Regions from separate parts of the Homo sapiens genome. Here region 2 is linked to region 1. The links are contacts of gene promoters, found by promoter capture Hi-C in blood cells and fetal thymus (Javierre and others, 2016). All regions are on one chromosome and are shown on one strand. The core of a region is centred on a gene start or on the middle of the fragment in contact, and the rest is flanking DNA. Distances in the headings are between cores, read along the strand shown. Region 1 holds the start of CDK6 (cyclin dependent kinase 6). Region 2 overlaps CDK6 (cyclin dependent kinase 6).

Region 1 (7,432 bases), core at 2,515-5,014:
ACACAATTTTTAGGCCATGTGTGCAGCTGAGATGCAAGTATTATCTCAGAAAAGAAATGTTAGAAACCAGTGAAAATTACAGGTCACTGTAAATAGAAAGAAAATATAGGTATTTTAACGTGATTATCACCATCTTTTGTAAGTATATTTCCATAGTTATTTTTCTGATTACTCAGAATTCTAATATAGATGATGAAAGAATCTTAAGAACATGTTTCAAACATGTCATAACAATATGCCAAGAACATACAGGTATTCACACACACACACACACAAAGGAAAAAGAAGATATGGGTGTCTATCAAAAGGGAAAAATTAAAAAAGATGATGGCAATTATACAAATATGAACATAGTACTGACATGTTGCACAAAGAAAATTATAGAGTAGTAGAACCAATGGAAGCAGCATGTTCCAAAAGACAGTAATGTTTGTTTTTTCCTCCTTAAATGTTATAAGCTACTACTTTATATCTATTTTTTCCCTCATGGCAGATATCAAAATCATTTCAAGTTTCACTGCTCAAATGCAGTGCAATAGATCACATGCAACAGTAAAAACAGAAAAACCCAGGTCATTTCCAAATTGACAGAAAGAATTTATTTAGAAGACTGAACTTTAAAAATCATTTAAAGCTCAGAATTTTACAATGCAAAAAGTTGATAATACAATTGACTTTTCCTAAGCTATTTAGCAAACTTTCGGTAATATAGTTCAGGGGAAAACCCAAGAAAATATCTTGGAAATGTCTGAGAAGGGAAAGAAGAATGCATTAAAATGTACTGCATTTATATTATGCTATTTCTGTTAAAATTATAGTTTCTCATGATTATTACTCAATAAAGATAACATGTACACAAACACATAAATCAGGTTAAAAAGTAGGGTAACTTGTTTCAAGGTTAAACTAGAAGTGTATTTTAAAATAATTGTGTAGTACATTATAGCAAAATCTCATTTCTGAGTTTCTGGAAAATATATTTTATAAACTCAAATAGCCAATATAAATCAGAAATGAATTAGATTTAGGTGTACATTATATAATTATTATTTGTAACTAAATTACACATTTCCTTAACAAGTTAAAAATTATAGACCAAAATTTAAAATTTTATGTTTATTTTAGTGAAAACAAAATTGTACAGGTATTTGATATATAAATGTTCACACATGAAATACATTCCTTGTGTGACATTAAGAAGTCTTTCAGTGTAAGTTACACCACCATATTTGGAAATAAGTCCATGAAATGTAATTTTTAAATACCTGTAAGATGATTTGCAACTTTAGAATATCTGGTATGTAGTGTGAAAATACTGGTTGGAGTCATTATTCTTGAGTTCTATATATTAATTCTCAGAAGACTCCTAAACAAAGAAGTTGGAATTTGGTTCACAGTTTAAAAAGTTTGAACATATTTTCTTATGATAACCTGTTACCCACAGCAGAAGTTATCCATAAACAAAAATAATCTGGTATTTACTAATTTTATACAATCAATTGTAAAACTGCCTTGGGTCTGAAGCTTTCACCAACTGGGACTTAATGTGAACCATAAGCAGGAAGAGTGAACAATGATAAATTAACATAAAAGATAGCAGTATCAGGAAAAGAAGAGGACAGAGAGTTAACACTCAGTACTAACATATATAATTAAATAAAGTTTCATTGTTTTTTACATTGTCCAAATGATCTAGTAACCTAAATCATGGAATTTCTGATCTAGCAATGGTTGTTGTCAAATTCAGTAACTAAAAATTCAACCCAGTGTAGAAAAGACACTTCTCTGTTAATTTAATATTTGTAGCTTACTATTTTTTTAATAAATGATTTATTCAAATAAATTCTAGCCATGATGTGCTGCTTCCTATTTGCTGGCAATTATTTCTGGATTATATAAACATGTTAATTACCAGCAAGTAAATCTTGTTTTAAAAGGCAAATGATAAGTGTGAACAATTATCAAAATGGAGGATTCCCACTTGTGTCTCTGGCTTAAAGTCTAATTAGTGACTTGTAGTGATCCAATATTTTTATGTAAATATAAAATCTAATGATTTGCCTTCTTAAATTTATAAGGTATATGAGATTATAGATAGCTTTATAAATACAAATTTTGTTCAGAAAACTGGATCTTATTTTAGAAGACATGCTCTTAACACAAATGTATTTTATGAATTATCTTAAGCTTAAAGACATACAATTATTCACTTTTATTTTTAAAGAAAAAAGTATTATAATGCATTGCAAAATATGTGCTACTGAAAATGCATCAATTTTTATTTCCCTAGCCTTACCTCACACTATAACATAGAATCAGTTTTATAAAGGCAAAAATTTGATTTACTGTGAGATTAGTAACATGGTTTTAAAGTCAAAAGATTTATAGAAGTAGTATTTCCAATTCAAACAGAATTTTGCCAGGTTTTAATTTTTCTACAAAGCACTTAAGTAAATAATTTTGTGAAAAGTTTTGCTTTAAGATGTTTTAAAGGGTTTCAAGTATTCTACAGATAGAGATTTTGGGGAGAACACCAAATTCTTTCCAAAAAGACAGCTATTTCAAGTTTTCTTTTACTCCATTGTAGAAAGTTTTAAAGACTTTTTTTTCTCCAAAATCTAATTTTCACCTGAAATAATTGTATTCAAGGGTTTCTCAGCAGGTAAAGTATACATTCTTACAAGGTTTCAAATTTCAGATTTCCAATAATGCATTTAAACTGAGCACTCCTCTTTTTGTGTATGTATCTACTATCTGCAGTTCTATTATTTACACTAAATTTTAGTCTTTTTAGCTCCTCTGAAATACGTTAGTGAACCCTCAGCAGTTACTAACCACTTAATAATTGTGAGCCCGCCAGCCCCTTCAAGTAGATCGTTAACCATAAGAGTGCCTGACAATTTCCAAACCATATCCTCTGTCTAAAAGGAAAAGATAGGGCTTTGTGAGGCAGAAAGGAAGCGAAGGAAAACAAAACAAATGTAGCTCATGCTGAAAGTGAAAAGTGCTTGGATAGATTAGTATTTTCTTTTCTGCAAGGCATCCTGCCAAACTTTTTCTTTATTTTTTTAAGAGAAGAGTTATTTTTTGGTCTGATTTTTCAGTTTCTTGGAAAGTATTGGTATTTACCACCCCCATTGGCCGCTCATAATTATTGTTGGTTGTTTTGTGTTTTTCCCATCCGTCCACGTCACACAGTGAGGATGCCCCCCGCTTCACCCTGTCAAAACCCCAACTCTGGGCGACCCTGGGTTTGGAAACTCCGCCGACTCCCGACGACACGTCCCACTCTCTCCCACTAATGCCGCTTATTTTAGTCGCAGGATCCCCCTACTACAGTTTCAGCGAAAGCCGGAAATTTTCATTTAACTCTCCCCCCCACCCCCACCCCCACCGCGCCCTTCTAGCCCCCGACTCGTAGAAGGGAGCTAGGGAGCCCGGAGCTCGGAGCACTGCCGGGACTCGGCCGCCTCATTTCTCTCCGGAAGGCTTTAATTTGCACACTTTCTTGCCACTGCGCCACGAGCCCCCAGCCCCGCCGGGGGGTGGGTCTCCGGCAGAGTTGGCTTCGCGGGTCCCTGCCCCCACCCCGCACGGTCGCCCCAGCTGCCTCCCCGGCTGGGGCCCCCAGCGCCGGCCGGAGCCCAGCGGCCCCCGTCCGCCCCCAGCGAGCGGCGCGGGCGGCGCCCTCCGCCGTCCCTCCGCCCTCCGCCGCTGTGCCCACCCCCTCGCCGGAGAGAGTGCTGGTAACTCCTTCCCCAGAGTCTGATTACCTGCTCCGCGAGGCCGCGGACACGTGCGGAGAGCCGACTGACACTCGCAGCCCCCTCGGGAGGCCCGACGCGACTGGGCCCCTCAGGTGAGGAGCTGTGCGCTCGGGTGGGTGGGCTGCGGGGTGGGGGGTCCCGGGGGAGATCTGGGGGATTGGCCGGGGTCCGAGGCAGAACTGTGGGTGGGGTAAGTGGAGGGTGGCGGGGGGTGGGGGGGACCTGTGTTTCCTTGGAATCGGCTTTGGTTAACCCCTTACGAACTGAGACGGGATTGGTTATGGGGGCCAGTTTTGGGGAGCTAGAGGATTCTCCTTATCTGATGAGAGGGGGAGATCCCAGCCTAGGGACACCCGCGACACCGAGATCCTGCTTCCACGTATCCGTACGCACACACACCCACACGGAACACGCCTCATACAGTTTCTCCAAACGGAACTGGAACTCTACTCGGACACTCACATAATAATTCACATTTAGGGTTTAAAATGCACTGCCTCTAGGGACTCCATGCTGGAGAATGTGCTTGCATTTCCCCCTCGAAAACTCCCTCTCCAGCTCGCTGAGGTGTGGGTGTGGGCTCCACCTTCCCCTCCACGAGATAAATGTTAACGCAGGCTTCCTGCGGGCGTGTTATACACAGAAAAGTGCACGCAGCCGGCCAGTGCCCAGGCTTGGAGCCCCGCGAAGACGCACGTTTGCTGTAGTTTCCAAGTTTACTTTTATAATTTAAAATATTGGAGTTAAACACACGCCCCGCAGTGAGCAGCCCTGGTCCCCGCAGCGCGCCCGTCCGTGTGCATATGGGCGCATCTGCGTGTGCGCACACGCGGGAGTCGCGGTCCCCGGTGTGGCCTCTTGTCGCTGTGCTGGTGGCGACCCTTGTGGTGCTTGGCAGGCTTCGGGAGAGGCGCATGAAGGATTTCATTGAGTGTGAAGACAGAGAGCAGAGACAGAAAGCAGAAGGAGGCGGCTGCAGCCTTTGTAGTCGCGGAGGAATGCGGAAATGTTGAAGCACTATGTCAAACTTTTTTTGAAATGGGGTCAAGTCACATTCAGCCAGCGTGGGAAAGCAACAACAACAACAAAAAAAAGTGGAGGAGAGGGGGGGAAAAGGCATTGCTGCTCCCGTTTCTCTCCGCCGAAGCCGACCGTCTGGGGGGCGAGTGGGGGGAGAGCCAGGGCAGTGCGGGGCCCGGCGGGGGCAGCAGGCGCAGTTCCCTGCGGGGGTGGGACGTCCCCGACGCTTCCTTCGCTGCGGAGCCCGGGGCTAGACTCGAGCGGGAGGGGGTTGGGGGGATGCAGGACAGGCGGGTTGGGCGGCCGGCGGCGGCTCCCCGGCTACCTGTGTGGCCCTCGACCTGGCTCAGACCCCCGGGCAGTCCCTGGGGGCTCTTTCCTCGGCTTTTAAGGAAAGTTCTGAATGTAGTGAGTGCCAGAAGCTCTGCTCTCGCCGCGGTCCGCTCCACCCGCTCATCGTGGGGGTCGCGCCGTTTGTTTAATTCCTGGCAAAAGGCGAGCGGGCCAGCGGTTGCGAGGCAGGTAATTCCGAGGTGCCCCGGGAATTCCGGACATGCGGCCGTCGTGGTGAAAGTCCTGCCGAGGCCGCGGCGGCCCTGGAGGAGGGAGGCCCCCTAGGTCCCAGATAGCTGCTGAATGGGGAGGGAAAGTTAGGGTACCCTACTCTGGCGCTTTGTTGTGCAGAGGGCTCCGGGGGCGTCCGGCTGCAGACTGGACCGGGCCTTTAGCCGGAGGGGGAATGGGGCAGCCACCTCTGCTACCTACAGCGGGGAGGTCCTGGGAATGGGAAAAGGTTCGCGAGTCCGGGCCCCGAGGACAGAGACCTTCTCTCTCACCCCTGGAGGCGCAGGATTTAACCCCCCACCCCCCACCCTTTGAAAGGGAGGTTGAGTTTTGCTCAGGTCGAAATCAGTTTAAAACTTAAGGACGAGGCGCGATTATGCTATCCCCTTCCTGAAGTTATTCTTTAAGGAGACGACAAGCGAAATTGTGGCGAACACCCCTTTCTCCCACCCTTGGGATCCCGTGGGGGACGGTGTCTCCCCTCCCCCAGGACCGCTCGCTCGCCCACCCCCGATAAGCCCCAACCCTCCCCGACCAGATGGCTGGTCTTCCCAAGGTTTCCACCAGGGAGGTCCTCCCAGCCGGAGAGAGAATTCCGTTTCCAACCGAGACTCCTTTACCCCAAAAAGACCATTTGTGTATGCGAGTCGTTTTTAAATGTCTCCTCGTAGAAAAACTGAAAGTAGAAAGAAAGGAAGCAATTTCTGAGCAGATGTCTGACCACCCCTTCTCGCACACTCCCAGCATCGGGTTACAGGGTCCTGGGAGCCCCCACCCACATTCTGCGGCCCCACACGGATGGACCCACAGTCCTTCCGCTCCAGCTTGTGCGCGACCCCTGAACGCCCTCCGGCACCCCTGGACCCCGTCTCCCTGCACGTCCGGGCCTCAGGAGGCGGGGAGGGTAGCGGCGCAACACAATGATATAGGGATAAATATTAAGCCGTGACATTGACGTGCCCGGCGCCTCCCCTCCCCCGCGCTCCCGGCACACTCTGGGCTGCTCGGCACGCCCCCTCCCGTTCCACTGCGTCCCGCGCCGCTCGCTCATCCCCGAGGGGCCCCTGCAACCTCTCCGCGCGAAGACGGCTTCAGCCCTGCAGGGAAAGAAAAGTAACTTCGCTTTTCTCGGAGGAACCAGGAAGGATTAAGCGGCTTGGGAGAGGGCAGGAGCGCGCGGAGGGTAGCGATGGAGGCTTCGTAAAGGAGGAGGAGGGGAGTCTGGAGGAACCCCGAGGAAGGCTTCTGGGCTGTCTGATTGCACTTTCTTCTTATCCTCCCGTCTCCTCCTTTAGGTGCAATGATTCTGGACTGAGACGCGCTTGGGCAGAGGCTATGTAATCGTGTCTGTGTTGAGGACTTCGCTTCGAGGAGGGAAGAGGAGGGATCGGCTCGCTCCTCCGGCGGCGGCGGCGGCGGCGACTCTGCAGGCGGAGTTTCGCGGCGGCGGCACCAGGGTTACGCCAGCCCCGCGGGGAGGTCTCTCCATCCAGCTTCTGCAGCGGCGAAAGCCCCAGCGCCCGAGCGCCTGAGCCGGCGGGGAGCAAGTAAAGCTAGACCGATCTCCGGGGAGCCCCGGAGTAGGCGAGCGGCGGCCGCCAGCTAGTTGAGCGCACCCCCCGCCCGCCCCAGCGGCGCCGCGGCGGGCGGCGTCCAGGCGGCATGGAGAAGGACGGCCTGTGCCGCGCTGACCAGCAGTACGAATGCGTGGCGGAGATCGGGGAGGGCGCCTATGGGAAGGTGTTCAAGGCCCGCGACTTGAAGAACGGAGGCCGTTTCGTGGCGTTGAAGCGCGTGCGGGTGCAGACCGGCGAGGAGGGCATGCCGCTCTCCACCATCCGCGAGGTGGCGGTGCTGAGGCACCTGGAGACCTTCGAGCACCCCAACGTGGTCAGGTGAGCCAGGGAGCTGCGCCCTCGCCATCTGGGGCCTCGCGCGCGCGGGGAGGGCCGAGCCGGGAATCCTCAGGCCCAGAAAGGTGCGGGGCAGAGGGCGACTGGGGAGGTCCTGCGCGACCTGTTGGTCTTACAGAGTGAGAGTTAAGTTTTGTCGACAGAGCCGCGAGCCAGAGCCGGTGACCT
Region 2 (7,432 bases), core at 3,626-6,125, 56 kb after region 1:
ATCATTCAGTGAACATTTGTGTCTATTTCTTCGTCTCTAAAATGAGTACCATCTCATACAGTTGTTAAGATTTTTTAATTAACTAGTAAATGCAATATTTTAGTGTTTGAGTCTTCGTTTAACAGCAGTTACAAAATCTGGCTTACTCAGAATGCCACGCTTTCCTAATGACATCTTGAAGTATCCTCACTTTTACTTTATTTTACTTTGACTTTTCCCTAAGTTATAATTTAGAAAAATTTCATTTATTCAATAAATATTTATTGAACACCTATGTATCAGACATGGCTGTGGGTGCCACTGAGAATTGAAAGAAAAGAATAAGCAAAACGCAAAGAGGCACCACTAGTTTAAGGCTATCTTTAGTTTGCTACTCTGTCATCTCTGACCTGCCAGTAGGGCTTGCGACTTGAGTTCCCCTCACCCCATCCTCTCACCAAAAGCCACAGGTTTTGGGGTCTCTCAGTCCATTCACTCTTGTTAGGCCCTTATTTTGTCCATCATATTTATGTTTTTGGAGTGGCTGATTGAAGGTAACTGTTAAGGAAAGACTAAAAGTTCATCATGTCTAGGTGGAGACCTCAAGAGGTAAACAGTGCCCTGTTCCTGATCTATAGCTGAGGTTGGTGAATTGTTCTTTATACTAATCTAGACCTAATAGTTCCTAATTTTCTCCATTGGCAGGTCGCTTCTTTTTGTAGAGTTGGCTGTGTTCTCTTTGAACTTCCAAATCTATTTTGTATTGGAACTGGACTCACCAAAATTATCAACTGATTATTGTTTAGCTGCCTACAGAAAACAGCTATTGTTTAGCTGTTATCTTTCTCTTGTCTTTGGGGAGATAATGATCCACATGGTTAGTGACTTGGAGTTCACTTAATTCCAAGTAGGATTTTGCCCCTGCTACCATTCTCTTCCCTGCAAGACAACAAATCGCATTTTATGATATGCCTTCTTTGTGGCAGCTCTAAAGCTTTTTTTTTTCCCATAATAGCATGTAGTTAGCATAACAGAGTGATGCTACAGCCTTACTCTTTTCTCTGCCTTTCATTCAGATAAAATGCATTAGCAGTTTGAATAATTGTGTTTGATGACGTAGAAGTGCCTGTAGTGCTTGCTGTATGTAGGACTATGGAAGAAGCTGAATTCTATTATTTAATGTCCAGTTCAGGAATTGATCTGGAATGAGGAGAGGGGTACATAGGCATCCCATATACCCATTAAGCCATCCTAAATAGCTTGTTTCAGGCCCAGCTAGTAGTACATCAGTTCTGTTGCTGATCGTGTGGTAGGAATGTGTTTCCATATACATAGTTTTACTGTTTGCTCTATTTTCAAAATTTACTATAGTGCAAGAGTCACATCTTGTAAACTTGCCCAGTTTAGGGGATTCCCATTCCACATGTAAAACATTTTTTGGTTAACAGATTCAGAAGATATTAACTCCTAGAGCCACAGTGCCAGGTCTATATAGATAGAAGCTGAAACTAGATTAATAGCAACTCTAAAGTTGGAAAGAAGATAAACAATGAAACTTTCTTATGAATACTCTCTTAAAGGCTGTAGGAATAAAATGATTTAGTAAATAAGCAATGTTGATTTTGCCTTCCCTTGTCAGATAATAGCAGCCATAAACTTAACAGTTTAAATACAAAGGATTTCTGTGCTTTAGAGTTGGTTTGACATCCCTGTCCTTTTCCACTTTTCAGCAACAGCTAGTGGGAAAGGGGTTGTTTAATTGAAGGCTTCAGGAGAACACACCTTGCACACTGGATTCAACCTTTAAATTAATTGAACCCTGTATCTTTGTATTATTTTTAAGTTCTTTTTTCTCCTTGCTTCCTCTTACCATTGAGTTCTTTTCTACTCTATGTTTTACATTCCTGTTTGTGATAAACTTGTCCATCTGTCTTCTTCCTTCTGTGCTTTCCTCCATCCAGTGTCTCTATGGTCAGATCAGGAACCTCAAGTAGGGTCTGAGAGGAAGCTGCCTGGCTCCTTGGGAAGGATGGATTGATCTGGTTCTCTGCTGTCGGCTACTTTTGCCCAGTGGACATGCGAATGGAGGAGCCATTTAAGGTGAATAGATTCCCAGCCAAGTCAGAGAACTGGGACAGTCACTTTGAGGACACTGCTACTTCTTTTGTGCTTGAGCTTCACTCATTGTGTCTACTCTGTAAGACGTATTTGAGGCCAGATATTGACATTTTTAAGTCATTTAATCATTTCAAAATATTTATAGATGTCTTAGGACAATTTTTTGTTGCAAGTAATAAAAACCCAACTCAAGCTGGATAAGCAAAACACTGACTTTAGTGACTCACATAATTAATAAATCCAGGGGTAGATCAAACACACTGGGCCCAGGTGTGGAAATAATGTCTTCCGGAATCTCTTGCCCACTGTCCCTTGTTCTGGCCCTCTTCTGCATCCCATAGTAGGTTCACTAAAATGGTGGCAAAGACAGCCATCAGTAGCTGCAGGCTGAGACTTTGCCAGTTTCATAATCCCAGTGTAGAGTTTTACTCTCCCAGAAGTCCTAGCAAAATTTCTGAGACTGATTATTATGCTCCTGTCCACCTCTGAATCATTCATCATCACTCAATCCAGGGTTGTTCACATGCCATCCGTGGGCCCCTGCTGTTAAAACCAGATTGCCAGATTCTAGGACAGGAGTAGTTCCTCAACAGAAAATAAGGGTGTGGCTTCCAGGAGAGGTAAATGGATGGAAAGGCAGAGACCATCTGTGGTTTACTTAATAGGATGTAGAATAAATTTACTTGATGTGATATATAAAGTTGTACATAGTGTTTATAGAATTTATTTGGTACTAATACATAGCCATACATCATTACCTGCATTTTTACTTGTAAGTCTTCTTTCCCACAACTAGATAGTAAAGCTTTTAAAAACAATATCTGTCATATCTATTGGAAACTCTAAAACTGAGTATAGTGCCTGCACATGGTAGGTGCTGGTAAATGTTTATGGGTGCTGCTGAAATCGCAATTTGCTTCTAGCAGCATGCACATTATTGTTGGTGGCAAATACTCCTGGAGCTATACCATTTGGTGCTGGTTGAGAATAAGTGCACACAGAGTCCATATTTAATGAGCAAAAAAGAGAATACAGTGGCCCATATCCGTAGTGTAGGGCTAGTGAGATGTGTGAACATAAATTTGGTGCATACAAGACATAGTCACAGAATATGCTTCATGCACTTAAGAGGAGGAGATTAGATATTTTTAAAAATTCTTCTCGATTCCAAATACTGGCTCTAGTTCAAGCAGAATTTTGTTGTGGCCCTTAGGTAGCTGTGCCAGACATCTCTCAGCTCTTGAACTATTTGATGTCCAAACATTGAAGAGAATGGGGGAAAAAAAAGTGACCGGAAAAAAATCCTCATAGAACTTCCTGTGAATGGGTCAAAGTTTAATCACAGCAAATAAGACAGATTTCCCTTTTATTGTAACCACAATAGAAAGGCAGGGCTTGTGTTTACAAAGCATGTTGTTTGGGAGACCTTTGTAAATTGTAATCTTTGGAAATCCCAAACCTATTGGATGTAATCCCATCCATTAGATGAAGGCAACTTGCCTATGCAATAGTTCCAGAAGAGCAAGTTAAATTGAGAACATGAACAGGAAGTAGTCATTAAGAATTACAATGGGTAGGATGCAGAGTTAATTCAGAGAGATATTTTGTTATTAGATAATTACATCACTAGGACAGCTGGAAAACTGAGTGCTGTGCTGGACTGCAAGCCTTGTTCTCTGCCCTGCAGCTGGCGGGTCAGGACAATAGAGACAGCAAGAGAACTTACTTTGTGGGAGAGTTAGGGGCTTGGCCAACTTAATTGTGAAATGATAACGACCTATCTGCCTTTTTTGGATTGCATTTTGCACAGCTAAACTGAAGGCATAGCCTTAGTTAATGCCAATAACCAGTTTGCACTTTGACTTTTTGAACATTCACTTGGATCACATTATGCTAAGCTCTAATGGATAAATATTTAATGGTAATTTTCCTTTCCTTTAAAAGTCATCTGAGATATTTTGTTCATATTCAATACATTGTGATTACATTTTTCTTATGGAACTGCTGTCATGTAATTCTTGAAATGGTATTTTTGTCAGGTTACAGATTAGCAAAAATTTTTAAAAAAAGGTTTTAGAAAGTCTTAAAATATTGGTCAATATAAGGAATCATGCAGTTGTAGCTATTTTCCAGTTTTTTGGGGTTTTTTTGGTTTTTTTTGTTGTTGTTGTTGTTTTTTGTTTTTTTGTTTTTTTTTTTTTTTTGAGATGGAGTCTCGCTCATTGCCCAGGCTGGATGGAGTGCAGTGGCACGGTCTCGGCTCACTGCAAGCTCTGCCTCTCAGGTTCACGCCATTCTCCTGCCTCAGCCTCCCAAGTAGCTGGGACTACAGGCGCCTGCCACCACGCCCGGCTAATTTTTTTGTATTTTTAATAGAGATGGGGTTTCACCGTGTTAGCCAGGTTGGTCTCGATCTCCTGACCTCGTGAGCCGCCCTCCTCGGGCTCCCAAAGTGCTAGGATTACAGGTGTGAGCCACCGCGCCCAGCCTATTTTCCAGTTTTTACATTCAAGTGTTCAGACCTGTCTGGCTCTTTTGTTTTGCAAGTGTAAGGGTTCTAGGTAGCCTAGCCCCATTCCTTATTGATTTATATAAATACATTACAGATTGTTTACCTCTAGCCAAATACCAGGGATTTTAATTCATGCTTAGCTCAGTTGTTGTATATGAAACTCATTTGTTATATTAAAGTTTCTGGCCGGGCACAGTGGCTCACGCCTGTAATCCCAGCACTTTGGGAGGCCAAGGCAGGTGGATCACTTGAGGTCAGGAGTTCGAGGCCAGCCTGGCCAACATGGTGAAACCCATCCTTACTAAAAATACAAAAATTAGCCAGGCATGATGGTGCATGCCTGTAGTCCCAGCTACTCGGGAGGCTGAGGCAGGAGAATCACTTGAACCCAGGAGGTTGCAGTGAGCCAAGATTGCACCACTGCACTCCAGCCTGGACAACAGAGTGAGACTCCATCTTAAAAGAAAAATAAGAATAAAAATAAAGTTTCTGTTTTCTCTTTATTGCCCACCAAAGTGACTATTATTTGATTTGGGGCAATTCCAGAGGGAGTCATTGTAGACAAAAAAAAGCATCATAAATATTATAGTCTAGCATTTCTAAGATTAATGTTTACAACCATTGATTCAAAATGCATTTCCTACCCATTGTGACTAATATAACTGTTAATTTTTAGTACAATGTTTACTAACCATTAATCAGACATAATTTAAGTCAGACAAAATTTCATAGTTTTGGGAAGAGCAATATTTCCCCAGATGTCTTCCATGGAGTACTAGGTCTGTAGGATGTGGATGGCTAGCCAGCACTGGAGCCAAAAAAGAGAGTATCCTACAGGCACCCTTAGGACTCTGATGTCCCTTGATGCCCTTTGTGAATGTCTGAGAAGTCTCTAATATGCTCCATTTCCTGAATGAAGTTAATAATAATGGCACCTTAAAAATTAAAAAGGATTATTTCCTTGAACCTGGAGGAGTCACTTCTACCTAATACCATTTTTTAAGAATATGCAAGTATATACATTAAAATTTATGTGAAAATGTTCTGCTCTATGGACTATTACACATCTCTTTAAAATTCCATGTTTTAAAAACTACCGATTGAAATGAGTCCTTTTTTCTCCAAGGTTTATCATTTAGGACAATTAGTAGTGGCTTCAGTGAGCTCACCTTTCGTATCTTGAGCATCCATTGAAACTGAGGCCTGGAGTCCAGTTGCTGCAGGTGGCATCAGTGAGTCTTAATATTTTGAAGAGAGCAGTATAACTCTGAGGAAAGCAACTTGGGTGGGTTAGATGTTATTTTTAAATTGTGTCATGCAAAGAGTGCTTGAAAACGGTTTCAGTGAGATGAAGCAACAGGGCATACTGCCAGGGTTGTTAGGTAACTTCTAAGACAACGGTCCAGGGGGCAGATGACTTTTTGTTTCAGCAGTATTTTAGGATCACTTTATTCTCCAGTTATGCCCCCGTCAGAATTTTTTCTCTTTTGGAAATTACTATAATATCTTATATATATATATATATATATATGATAAACTATAAATGCAGTAAGAACTGGAGTTACTAAAATTACTATTGATTCCAGGTAGTGGTAAGCAATGTAATTTTTTCACTAAATATATTAATTATAATGGGAAATATTTTTAAAGTAATGTTTCAGAAACACAACTGAAATGGTCATAGTATGAAACAGCTCTGTGTTTGTATTTGACTTTAGGGACATGCCATTTTTGGTTCACTGCTCTTTTATTTTATTACAAAAATACAAGCAACAGATATAAAGAAAGTTGGGGATTGTGGAACTCCATTTTCTTTTTCAATAGGAAGAAAAGAGTGAAGTTGTCCAAGTATGTGGATTTAATAGCAATAAGCTGGCTTAAAAAAGCCTGTGAATAGTTGTAGTTATCTTGAATTATCAAGGCAAAAGAACTGTTTTGATAAATTTTCCACATATTAAATCCATGCATGATAGCAATCATATTTTTAGAGTGTGAGACTTAATATGATTTATGGTACTATCTTTAATAAATCTGTTAAGAGTTTTTACTTTATTGGAATAATTTTCCAGAATAAGTAACATTAGGGGAAAATATTAAGTTTAGGAATGGATATTAAAACTTAAAAACCAGAATGTTTAGAAGTAGATAAATGTGAGGAAAAAATTTTCAATGGATTCTGGTTAATTTTAATGGAGTTGTATAATTCACCCCAAACTGCCCATAATTAAAAAGAAGCTTGGATCTGGCTATGAAGCATGTGTAGTTGTTGGTGTTCTGTTTTTTGACCTGCCAGATTTAACCTAATTACAGTGGTGGGGTTTTTTTGTTAAGTGTTTTTTGTTTTTGGTTTTGGTTTTTTTTTTTCGTTTCCTTTAAAATTTAGTATAGATTCACAGAGAAGTCCAAATGTGGGGTCCATAAAGCCCAGAAATGCAGAAGGATGACATGGTGAACCAGCAAGGCATTAAAAGTTTAACAGAGGTCCTAGGAATACAACCCAAAAGGGATGTGAAGGACCTCTTTAAGGAGAACCACAAACCAGTGCTCAAGGAAATAAGAGAGGACATAAACAAATGGAAAAACATTCCATGCTCATGGACACAAAGAATCAATATTGTGAAAATCGCCATACTGCCTAAAGTAATTTATATATTCAATGCTATCCCCATCCAGCTACCATTGACTTTCTTCACAGAATTAGAAAAAACTACTTTAAATTTCATATGGAACCAAAAAAGAGTCTGTATAGCCAAGACAATCCTAAGCAAAAAGAACAAAGCTGGAGGCATCATGCTACCTGACTTTAAACTATACTACAAGGCT

Evidence for each region. The method cuts DNA at HindIII sites, captures the fragments that hold promoters and counts their contacts. A CHiCAGO score of 5 or more calls a contact.
Region 2: a contact is called between a fragment that was not itself captured here and the fragment with the promoter of CDK6 in region 1, in 1 of 17 cell types (fetal thymus). The highest score is 5.1, in fetal thymus.

What each region holds. Positions count from the first base shown.
Region 1 is chr7:92,832,905-92,840,336 of GRCh38, reverse strand. It overlaps CDK6 (cyclin dependent kinase 6), which reads left to right and starts at 3,764. Exons shown (of 8, transcript NM_001145306.2): 1 at 3,764-3,859; 2 at 6,647-7,246. The coding sequence starts at 7,014. It overlaps CDK6-AS1 (CDK6 antisense RNA 1), which reads right to left and starts at 3,854. Exons shown (of 2, transcript NR_110088.1): 1 at 3,774-3,854. RefSeq lists silencers at 3,462-3,821, 4,932-5,181, 6,878-7,197 and enhancers at 4,272-4,351, 7,016-7,432. The HindIII fragment of the contact is 6,850 bases long and covers 2,190-7,432 here.
Region 2 is chr7:92,777,633-92,785,064 of GRCh38, reverse strand. All of the region lies in intron 2 of CDK6 (cyclin dependent kinase 6), which reads left to right. Among named protein-coding and RNA genes, the nearest start is that of CDK6-AS1, 55 kb to the left of the region's middle. RefSeq lists a silencer at 2,104-2,304. The HindIII fragment of the contact is 3,942 bases long and covers 2,905-6,846 here.